Regions from separate parts of the Homo sapiens genome. Here all the other regions are linked to region 4. The links are contacts of gene promoters, found by promoter capture Hi-C in blood cells and fetal thymus (Javierre and others, 2016). All regions are on one chromosome and are shown on one strand. Each heading gives the region's core, a stretch centred on a gene start or on the middle of the fragment in contact. The rest is flanking DNA. Distances are from core to core; before and after follow the strand shown. Region 1 overlaps LOC107987026 (a long non-coding RNA gene). Region 2 overlaps LOC107987026 (a long non-coding RNA gene). Region 3 overlaps LOC107987026 (a long non-coding RNA gene). Region 4 holds the start of IFNA5 (interferon alpha 5).

Evidence for each region. The method cuts DNA at HindIII sites, captures the fragments that hold promoters and counts their contacts. A CHiCAGO score of 5 or more calls a contact.
Region 1: a fragment that was not itself captured here is called in contact with the fragment with the promoter of IFNA5 in region 4 in 1 of 17 cell types (M2 macrophages); the score reaches 5.0 in M2 macrophages.
Region 2: a fragment that was not itself captured here is called in contact with the fragment with the promoter of IFNA5 in region 4 in 1 of 17 cell types (M1 macrophages); the score reaches 6.2 in M1 macrophages.
Region 3: a contact is called between a fragment that was not itself captured here and the fragment with the promoter of IFNA5 in region 4, in 7 of 17 cell types (M1 macrophages, fetal thymus, total CD4 T cells and 4 more). The highest score is 6.9, in M1 macrophages.

What each region holds. Positions count from the first base shown.
Region 1 is chr9:21,738,876-21,741,575 of GRCh38, forward strand. All of the region lies in intron 1 of LOC107987026 (a long non-coding RNA gene), which reads right to left. Among named protein-coding and RNA genes, the nearest start is that of MTAP, 62 kb to the right of the region's middle. The HindIII fragment of the contact is 2,610 bases long and covers 1-2,560 here.
Region 2 is chr9:21,713,612-21,716,311 of GRCh38, forward strand. All of the region lies in intron 1 of LOC107987026 (a long non-coding RNA gene), which reads right to left. Among named protein-coding and RNA genes, the nearest start is that of MTAP, 88 kb to the right of the region's middle. The HindIII fragment of the contact is 2,938 bases long and covers 1-2,700 here.
Region 3 is chr9:21,755,090-21,757,789 of GRCh38, forward strand. The region is part of intron 1 of LOC107987026 (a long non-coding RNA gene); the gene reads right to left. Among named protein-coding and RNA genes, the nearest start is that of MTAP, 46 kb to the right of the region's middle. The HindIII fragment of the contact is 2,458 bases long and covers 90-2,547 here.
Region 4 is chr9:21,303,932-21,306,631 of GRCh38, forward strand. It overlaps IFNA5 (interferon alpha 5), which reads right to left and starts at 1,382. Exons shown (of 1, transcript NM_002169.3): 1 at 395-1,382. The coding sequence starts at 1,325. The coding sequence ends at 756. The region is part of intron 2 of LOC107987053 (a long non-coding RNA gene); the gene reads left to right. The HindIII fragment of the contact is 5,226 bases long and covers 1-2,700 here.

The DNA of each region.
Region 1 (2,700 bases), core at 6-2,505, 430 kb after region 4:
ATCAGTCAATCACCAGCTGTCAGTCAGTGGATAGGAATATTCTCAGGCACTTCCCTCAGTGATGAGACAGTTTATATATCCAAAGACAGTCCTCTGCAGAGGCAAGGGAGCCTTTAGCAAAAGAGAATACGGACGCTGAGGGGACAGGGCATAGTGCTGGGGAAAGGAATTGGAGAGGGAAGCACCTGGGCAGGACAGAGTGTTCACTACAGCAGTCATTGAAAAGATCATAAGCACCATGCCTGGAGCACCGAAAAGATGAAATAAGCCTTGAAATCCAGATGGTTTCTGGCATATCACAGGTCTGCTAGACTTTTCTTTTCTCTCCTCTAACCCAATGCTATCTTTTACTCCCCCTTTTCATCCTTTGCCAAAGACTTTCTGAAAATTGTTTGTAATATCTGGTACACCTAAAGAATCTGTTAGGTCCTCAGTATTAAACAGAAGAGATAAGTGTTTTCACATCCTATCTGATAAAATGAAGGACACAAATTTAAAAATGATTGTCTATTTTTAATGTTATAATTTCATATTTACCTCTCTCATTCTTGGATTTGTTCTTACTCAATAATAGCTTCCAACATTGTAACCTGGAGTTGTTCTCACTCTCTTACTAAATGATTTGAATCCAATTCCAAGAATAATGCTGCCACCCTATTTATAATACACTTGCACCTCCAATTGATTCCTTTCACAGTGCAATCCTCAGGTACAGATGTAAAGTTTTCTACTTCATAATGTAAAAGAATGTAAGAGACTATCTCATGACAGGAAGAAGACTCTACAGAAAAACCTTTTTTTGAAACCCCATAGCCCAGACAGTAGCACGTTATTTTTGGTGAAGAATTATCTGAAAATATAAATGGTATCTTAATCAGTGTTCAATGGAGAACCAAGAAGGGAAAGAGGAAGGAGTAAACTTTGAGGAGAGTCTCTTTTCACTGATTTTGTTTAGGATTGCAAGTACCTAGTGTTTATGAAAAGCAACTGGCTTTTAGTGGGTTCTAATTCTCAGCAGGCAATTCATCCCCTTATTCCTTGCACCCCAGGCAGATCACTTCTACTGCTACCATTCCTCTCCACTTCGGTTTGCTTTTGGGTGATGTAGTTTGTCCTAAGACCAGTGAGTTCCATGAGTATTATCACATTGCCACTCCTTTTGCTGTAAAATAAGTTCCTTGGATAAAAGCCCTATGAAGAAGGATATGATGGCAGTGAATAAGGCACACTGTCATCCAGGAATAGTGGTCTGGGCAAAGGCACTGCAAGCGTGGAAAGCAAATTTGAATTTGGAATACATCTCTGTTCCACGTGGACACATCTTTGCCTTCTCCAGGTGGCCAGCTATTTTTCCCAGGAATCATATTCTATCAGGGGCTCATTGCTGGCCTCTGTGCTACAGCAATGGTCATAGCCAGATCAGCGTTGTTGATGTGCTGTGGCTGAGCTCGTACATACCCTTATTTGTGACGTTATAAAAGTCTTCTCTTGATTCCTGATGTAAGTTTTCAGTTCAAGGCCCTAAACTTATTGTTTTCTTTTAATAAGCTCTCTAACACAGTCAGGCACAGTTGACACACTGTGTCTATAACCTTTGTAACCACCATTGTTGCATAGCAATCAGATGCCACCTTTATGTGATCACTCAAAACCTTGCTCTCCATCACCTAAAACCATCACCAATGATAATTTTAGAAATCGTGGCACTGCTACCTGTCACCCATTAACAGGGTGCGATTTCTGTCTAGCAAGGAGTTTATTCATGTGTCCATAAAACATATGAGCCACTCTAGTTTCAGAATCTTCTCCAGAATGTCTGTTTCATGAGGCTACTCTTGGTACCAACTACTGTATCAGGCAGGGTCTTAACAAGAGAACGTGGGCACACAGCAGGGCAGAAAAGGTGGATAATGGAGCCAGAGGACAGGCGGGCCAATATACAGGATGCTTAACAAGGGCAAGTAATCAAAAACTCATTTATATTAATATTTCTATAAAAGAATTCCTATTGGTTTTGTCATTCTTCCTTAGGTATATATGCATGACTCTTCCTAACCTTTTCTTCTCTTATTCCACAATTCTAGCTCTTGGCTTTCCATCCATATCACACCAATTTGATTTAATACCTGGCTCCACTACTAGACTAATAGCCCAGTAGAGTGAGCACTGCAGAAGCCTTCAGTGTTAGCACCCATGACCATAGCAAACTGTGTGCCTACCAGCTATTTATTTGAGTTTTCAGGACAACCTCTACAAGATACCTAATCCTCTATTTTTCTTAAAATTGTTGGATTTTTTTTCAGCATGTGGGATGTTGCTTGGCCTAAACATGATGAGGCATGGCATAATGAGTGTCAGGAAGGTCAGGAAAATGTAGGGGGGATATTTGTCAAGGAAAAGAAAACAAATAACTTTCTGCCAGATCTTTCATTCCAGACATGCTGGAAACTCACACCATCATAGGCTTGGGTAGTCAAAGCAAACTTTAAGTAGTGCTAAGAAACCTTTGACATGTGTGAATTGGCAGTCCATGTTGCTTCTGATTCAGCATAATTTATTAAGCTTTTTGGCATGTCTGTTAGGAGTTATGAAGCACAAAAACTCATGCCTCTTTTAAAAGAGAAAAGGTCCTATTCAGTGATTGTGACAATTTACAACAGGATCAAGAAGGCTGGCACTTAGCAGTCGTGGGACATAGCT
Region 2 (2,700 bases), core at 123-2,622, 410 kb after region 4:
CATAAGTAGGAAGAAAAAGGTAAAATTAAAGCTCTCTTGCCAGAAATGACACAGCCCATAATGGCAGCTGGTATTCATGTATTGTTATTAATTGTGGCAGTTTCAATCTATTGGTTACAAAACAAACTATTAGAAGTAAGAGAAGCAAAGGGGGGAGGGGGGAGGGATAGCATTGGGAGAGATACCTAATGCTAGATGACGAGTTAGTGGGTGCGGCGCACCAGCATGTCACATGTATACATATGTAACTAACCTGCACATTGTGCACATGTACCCTAAAACTTAAAGTATAATAATAAAAAAAAATGTAATCTGCTTTGTTAGTCTGTTCTATCATTGATATAAAGAAATAGTTGAGCCAGACTTGGTGGCTCATGCCTATAATCCCAGCACTTTGGGAGGCCAAAGTGGGTGGATCATTTGAGGCCAGGAGTTCAAGCCTAGCCTGGGCAACATGGCAAAACCCTATCTCTGCTAAAAATACAAAAATTAGCCGGGTGTGGTGGTGCATGCCTGTAATCCCAGCTACTAGGGAAGCTGAGGCATGAGAATCGCTTGAACCCAGGAAGTAGAGGTTGCAGTGAGCCAAGATCATGCCATTGCACTCCAGCCTGGGTGACAGAACGAGACTCCATCTCCAAAAATCTAACTAAAAACCTTGAGACTGGATAATTTATAAAGAAAGGCAGTTTAATTGGTTCACAGTTCTGCAGGTTCCACAGGAAGCATGATGGCATCTGCTTGCTTCTGGGAGGCCTCAGGAAACCTACGATCATGAAGAAAGGCAAAGGTGGAGTAGGCACTTCACATGGCCAAAACATGAGCAAGAAAGTGAGGGGGAAGTACCACATATTTTTAAACAATCAGGTCTCATGAAAATTCACTCATGTGAGACCTGGTTGTTTTAACGTGAGGACAGTATCAAAGGGATCGTACTAAACCATTCACCAGAACTCCACCCCCTTGATTCAATCATCTCCTACCAGGCTTCATCTCCAACATTGGGGATTATATTTCAATAGAGATTTTGGTGGGGACATGCATCCAAACTATATCATTCTGCCCCTGATACCTCCCAAACCTCATGTCCTTCTCACATTTCAAAATACAATCATGCCTCCCCAATAATCCCCCAAAGTCTTAACTCATTCCAGCATTTACTCAAAAGCCCAAAGTCTGAAGTCTGATCTGAGACAAGGCAATTCCTTTCCACCTGTGAGCCTGTAAAATATAAAACAAGTTAATTACTTCCAAGATACAGTGGGGGTACGAGCATTGGGTAAACATTCCAACTCCAAAAGGAAGACATTGGCCAAAAGAAAGGGGCTATAGGCCCTAGCAAGTCTGAAACCCAGAAGGGAAGTCATTAAATCTTAAACTCCAAAATAATCTCCTTTTACTTCATGTTCCACATCCAGGGCACACTTCTGCAAGGGGTGGGCTCTCAAAGCATTGGGCAGCTCTGCCTCTGTAGCATTACATGATTCAGTCCCCACAACTGCTCTCATGGGCTTGTGTTAAGTGCCTGGAACTTTTCCAGGCACAGAGTGCAAGCTCTTGGTGGATCTACTATTCTGGGGTTTGGAGGACAGTGGCCCTCTTCTCACAGCTCTGCTAGGCTGTGCCCTAGTGCGGACTCTGGGAAGGGGCTCTAACCTCACCTTTCCCCACTGCACTGCCTTAACAGAGTTTCTCCATACGGGTTCCATCCCTGCAGCAGGCTTCGGCCTAGACACCGTGGCTTTTCCATACATTTTCTGAAATCTAGGTGGAGGCTCCCAAGCCTCAACTCTTGCATTCTGCACAGTTGTAGGCTTAACACCACGTGGAAGCTGCCAAGAATTATAGCTTGCACTTTCTGAAACAGCAGCTTGAGCTGTATCTGAGCCCCTTTGAACCATGACTGGAACAGGAACAGCAGAAATGCAGGGAGCAGTGTCCCAACACTGTGCAGGGCAGTGGGGCCCTGGGATTGGCCCATGAAGCCATTCTTCCCTCTTAAGCCTCTGGGCCTGTGATGCAATGAACTGTTTCTTAGATCTCTGAAATGCCTTTGAGATATTTTTCTCATTATCTTATCTATCAGCACTTGCCTTATTTTCAGTTATGCAAATCTCTCTAGCAAGTGGTTCCTCCACAGCCTGCTTGAATTCCTCTCCCAAAAGAAAATGTTTTTTTCTCTGTAACATGTTTAGGCTGAAAATTTTTCAAACTTTTATGCTGTTTCCCTTTAAAATGTAAGTTTCAACTTGAGGTCATTTCTTTTCTCCTGCACATAGGAATAGATTGTTAGAAACAGCCGTGTCACTTCTTGAACACTTTATCGCTTAGAAATTTCTCCTGCCAGATACCCTAGGTCATCACTCTCAAATTAAAACTTCCACGTATCCCTAGGGCATGGACACAAGCCAGACAAGCTCTTTCCTAAGGCATAACATGCATGACCTTTGCACCAGTTCCCAATAAGTTTCTCATTTCCATCTGAGACCTGGTCAGCCTGGCCTTCACTGTCCATATCATTATCAGCATTTTGATCACAACCATTTAACCAGTCTCTAAGAAGTTGCAAACTTTCTCTCATCTTCCTGTCTTCTTCTGAGCCCTCCAAACTATTCCAGCCTCTACCCATTACCCAGTTCCAAAGTCACTTCCACACTTTCGGGTATCTTTATAGCAATGTTCTACTCCTTAGTACCAATT
Region 3 (2,700 bases), core at 69-2,568, 450 kb after region 4:
AGAAGGGGGTATCAAGTTCCCCACCCCTCCTCCTTGGTTTTCATTATGTCCCCTCATTGTTTTTTATTTCAAAATTCGAATAATGTGCAAGCTTTGATACATCCAGGTTTTTAATCCTGCCAAGAAAACATTGTACTTTTGAGATAATCAAGTAGACAGCACTACTCTTAATCTTGACAAAAAGAAAAGAAAAAATAAATAAACCACAGAGCTGATGAGAAGACCCTAAAGGACTCAGAGCTTGTAATGACACACATTATTTCCTTTAGTTTGAGTTTTTCCTTTCATGAAGAAAACTCTAAGATATACAAAAATAGTTCTTTATGGCTTGAAGCTCTTATATTGCTAATGGCTTTTGACAGTGGTATTACAGCTTGTTTAATCCAATTGAATTTGATTATTCATTCAGTAAGAAGATAAATTAGTTGACAGAGGAAATGTTTTTCAGTCACTGGTTCATATTAATGTCTGAAAATTCAGTTGTCCAGAAAAAAAGAGATAGGGGTAGAAGAGAAGCCAAAGAGATATAATTCTAATCAAGGATTTTCCTGAAATTTGAATTTGACTATGAAGAAAGTATTGATTGTGGGGAGAAATAATGTTAATTCCCTAAAACACAGGGTGAGAACTTTTTAATGGAGTACACATTACTCATCAAAATATAGTCCCAAACTATATTATCAAACATGTCTAACCCACTTTACACACATACACACACACACACACACACACACACCACCCTACGATGCAGTTATATGAATCTTTATTGTTTACTAAACATAATACATTTCCTCCTTCCCCACTTACGTGCCTTTGCACATTGTATTCTTTGTATCCTCTTCCTAGAATGCTCTTCTTTAAATTGATAAACTTATCCTTCAAAATGCAACAAAAATACCACCTTTTCAATGAAGTCCTTCAGAATCCCCCCAGTGTCCCATAGAAATTTGCATATCCTCTTAATTCAATGTCCTGCAACCTTCTTTGCACATTAGCACCCCTGGGATTTGGCATGATCCTATCAGTAATGCTGTCTCAGTGGGGTTTTATATGAGAAGGGGCTTTCTATGGGTGAGGCAACAATGGTTCTCTCTTGTGAGGTTGAAATTTCCAGGGTATGAGTTTAATTTGAAACACCCACAACTCCCCTTCCCCACCCCTACCCCAGCATAAACTCTGGCATATCCACTTCCTATTCCATGGACAATCACTGCTTCACTGCTCCACTTATTACTGTTGTCATAACATCTTGTGAATATTTGTTTCCGCCTCTCTTTCTGATACTAGATGGTATTATTCATTTTTATGGTCAATGTTCCCCTTCTCACAGTGAAGTATTTCACATATAGGAGGTGCTCAATAAATGTTTGTTCTAAGAACAAGGGCATGAATGAATGAGTAAATGCCTGAGTAACAGAATGATTTCTAGGACATCATAGGATTCGGCATCCTTAACTGGTGAAGAGATGAACCAAAACACAGTTATACTCTTGTGCAGGGAGTGGTCTGGGTAGCTTTAATTTGTCAGTAACCCCCAGCCACATGTTGCTATTGTGTATCTGAAGTGTGAATAATCTGAATTGAGATGTGCTGTGAGTGTAAAACTTCACACTGGATTTAGGAGACAGTATAAATACCTATATATATATCTACATATATATAAAATATATCAGTATCAAAAAGCAAAACATCTCAATTTTTATGTTGATTACTTGTTGAGATATTTTGATCTATTGAGTTGAAGTATATTAGTAAAATTAATTTCACCTGTTTCTTTTTATTTTTCTAATGTGACTGGTAAAAAAAAATTGCATATGTAGCTCACATGGCATGCATTATATTATATTTCTCTTGAACAGCACTGGTCTTAAGAAATGAATCTCAGGCCCTGAATGGTTGAGTCTAACTTTGGCCCACTCAGATGAAAGTCTCTGTGCAGGCAAACGAAGGAAGTTGATGTGCACACTGATCTCCTTGAAAGTGCATTGAAGCTATACTGAAGAGCACTGGGATCAACAGTAATCTTTCAATAATTTCTGGTTCTCCACTATTTTCCAGGTATCTAATCTGATCCACACTTCTCACTGCGCTTCTTATCACATATCATTAGGTATTAGTTGTGTGCACCCTTCACCTCAGCACCAAGGCTGTGTTAGCTTCACTCTTAAGGTCCTTCACCTACTAATAACTTTCCCTTTACCGGGACAACACAGATGCTGCCCAAGCTGCAGTCTTCCTATCCCCTACCCCCAAGTATCTTACTGAGGCACCCCTTGCTATGGATTCCCATTGCACTGATAGCATTTTCAACATTATATTGTAATTTGCTGTGTGTCTCAATAACTAGCCTATAAGTTCTTTGAAGGCAGAGACTCTCACAATCAATATTTAAATGTTACACACCAAGAGAATAAATCAGTTCAGTGATGATCTAATTTGCCCATAAATTTCCATCAAACATCTGCCCTAGAGAAATCATACTTCTTTAAAAAAAAAACATATATTATCTGACATAAAGAAAACATATCAAAGCCCTAGCTGGAATCAAGCTTGATGACTAAAATCTACTTAATCCTCAAAAAGCCTTGTGTCAGGACCCACCTTCTGCAAAAGCATTACAGTTTATTATGGAAAAGCGATTGCTAAAACACGTTGGCTTCCTTTTTCCTGTCAGGAGATCTCATTCCAGTGTTAACCTGA
Region 4 (2,700 bases), core at 132-2,631:
CATTCGCAATTACATGTTTAAAAGTCAGTTTAGAGAGGCTAGCTCTGCTTTTATTTTTCTTTCTGGACGTGCCTCTATCTGCGTTCTGCTGAGAGCAATTCACTGTTTTTTTTCCTAGCTCACATTATAGCATTTAACATAACTCATATTAATCATAATTATTGTTGTTAAATTTCTGGCAAAAATCAAAGATACAAGGGAACAGGAATTGTATTTATTATGTTCACTTAAGAAAAATCTTCCTTTACTTAAAATTTGAATAAAATAATGATAGGTAACTGAACTGTACCATCTGTTTTTAATCAAGTTATACAATCAGGCTTGGAGTTTCATTTTAAAGAATAAACAAACAATTAATAGTAAAAATCTAATGAACAAAGCAAAATAATCAGTTGACAAAACATAAAGAACATATTTTATTATATTAGCCACAAAGTAAAGGTGGATGTAATATTACCTGAACAAACATAATTTAAAATAATTTAAATCTTATAAATAAATAAATATTTAAATAGATTAGATAGAAGACAGACAGATAGATAAATAGATAGAATAGATAGATTGGCATGATCATCTGTAAAGATTTTGTCCCTGTGGAGCTAAAGAAGTGTTGCTTAACACGTGTGAAACGTTTGAAAATTTTGATTCAACTCAAGTCATGGATATAGCAGAAATTAATATTTGAAACGGCAGAACTCAAGAAGTGTGAAATGGTGTACTAGTCAATGAGAATCATTTCGATGTTGAACCAGTTTTCATTCCTTCCTCCTTAATCTTTCTTGCAAGTTTGCTGATAAAGAGAAGGATCTCATGATTTCTGCTCTGACAACCTCCCATGCACAAGGGCTGTATTTCTTCTCTGTCAGATAGAGGGTGATTCTTTGAAAGTATTTTCTCACAGTCAGGATAGAGTCCACATTCATCAGAGGAGTGTCTTCCACTCCAACCTCCTGCATCATACAGGCTTCCAGGTCATTCAGCTGCTGGTAAAGTTCAGTGTAGAATTTGTCTAGAAGTGTCTCATCCCAAGTAGCAGATGAGTCCTTTGTGCTGAAGAGATTGAAGGTCTGCTGGATCATCTCATGGAGGACAGAGATGGCTTGAGCCTTCTGGAACTGGTTGCCATCAAACTCCTCCTGAGGAAATCCAAAGTCATGTCTGTCCTTCAGGCAGGAGAAAGGAGAGATTCTTCCCATTTGTGCCATTATCATCAAAGTCCTCCTGTTACTCAGGCTGTGGGTCTGAGGCAGATCACAGCCCAGAGAACAGATTGACTTGCAGTTGAGCACCACCAGGGCCATCAGTAAAACAAAGGGCAAGGCCATTGGGGAGGTTGCAGATGCTTCTGGGCTGTTGAGATTGAGTGACCCTGAACCTTGGGCTCTTCTCTGAAGACCTTGTTTTGTGCACAGATCTTAAAAAGGTCACATACGAGTTTCCATTTTCTGAATGCCTTGTGTTACTTTCTACTTCTCTTTTTGCTTTCTTTTATGCTCTTTCTACATAGATGTACAGGAGTGTTTCTCAGTTTATTTATTTTTACATTATTACCTCATCTTCCTCTGCCACATATGCTTTTTAGAAATTTTTTTTCTAACTAAAAATCCCATTAAATTTTAATAACACAGATATACTATGTGTTGGCTGATGTATATACATTACAGTACCCATTATCGAGAGAGAATATTGTACTTCTTTAATGCTTTAAAAGCAGCGTAATAGAATGTAAAATAGAATTTATTCAGTCCCGGATTAAGAATGAGCAAATGAAAATTCTAAGGTAAAAGTTAATAATTAAATTTACAATTTATGGATATTTAACTTCATAGTTCAATTTGTTTAAGTAACAATGTGATTTATTTACTTATATAAATTGTAGTGTGTCAGATTAAATAAGTAAATTAACAAATTATGAAAATATATAATATTGCCTAGTATAATGAAATATTTAAAAATTCAAAATAGCTAAAGACTATTAAAATTGAAATTATTTGTAACATTTATTTTTAGGGTACTTTCAATTTTGCTTCATAGGGAAATTTAAAAAATTCACTAGCTTCTAGATATTGATCTAGATATTGTCAAAAACCTTTTTCTCTTCAGTGCTTGACATAATTATTGATGTGTTGAACAACTTTAGTAGAATTAAATAGTAAAAGATAAAGTATTTTTATTGAAACCTCAAAACTCAAAACACAGTCATAAATGCTCAGGATCAAATATAAGCAACATACACAAGACAGCAAATGACAGCTCATATGTATACAGAGGCCACCTCACATGATATGACTTTGACATCTAATAAATCTTGGAAAGTCCTCCAATAACAGCCACCCATTTGCCATATGCTTGTAGCACTGATCTTGTATACCTTTTGTGTATCTTCCATGAACTCAAGGTCAATGCTTCTGATGTTACAAGAAAACCAAATTAGGCCAGGCGCGGTGGCTCACATCTGTAATCCCAGCACTTTGGGAGGCTGAGGTGGGTGGATTACAAGGTCAGGAGATCAAGACCCTCCTGGACAACATGGTGAAAGCCCGTCTCTACTAAAAATACAAAAATTAGCTGGGCGTGGTGGCACGTGCCTGTAATCCCAGCTACTCGGGAGGCTGAGGCAGGAGAATTGCTTGAACCAGGGAGTCGGAGGTTGCAGTGAGCCGAGACCACCCCACTGCACTCCAGCCTGGCAACAGAGCG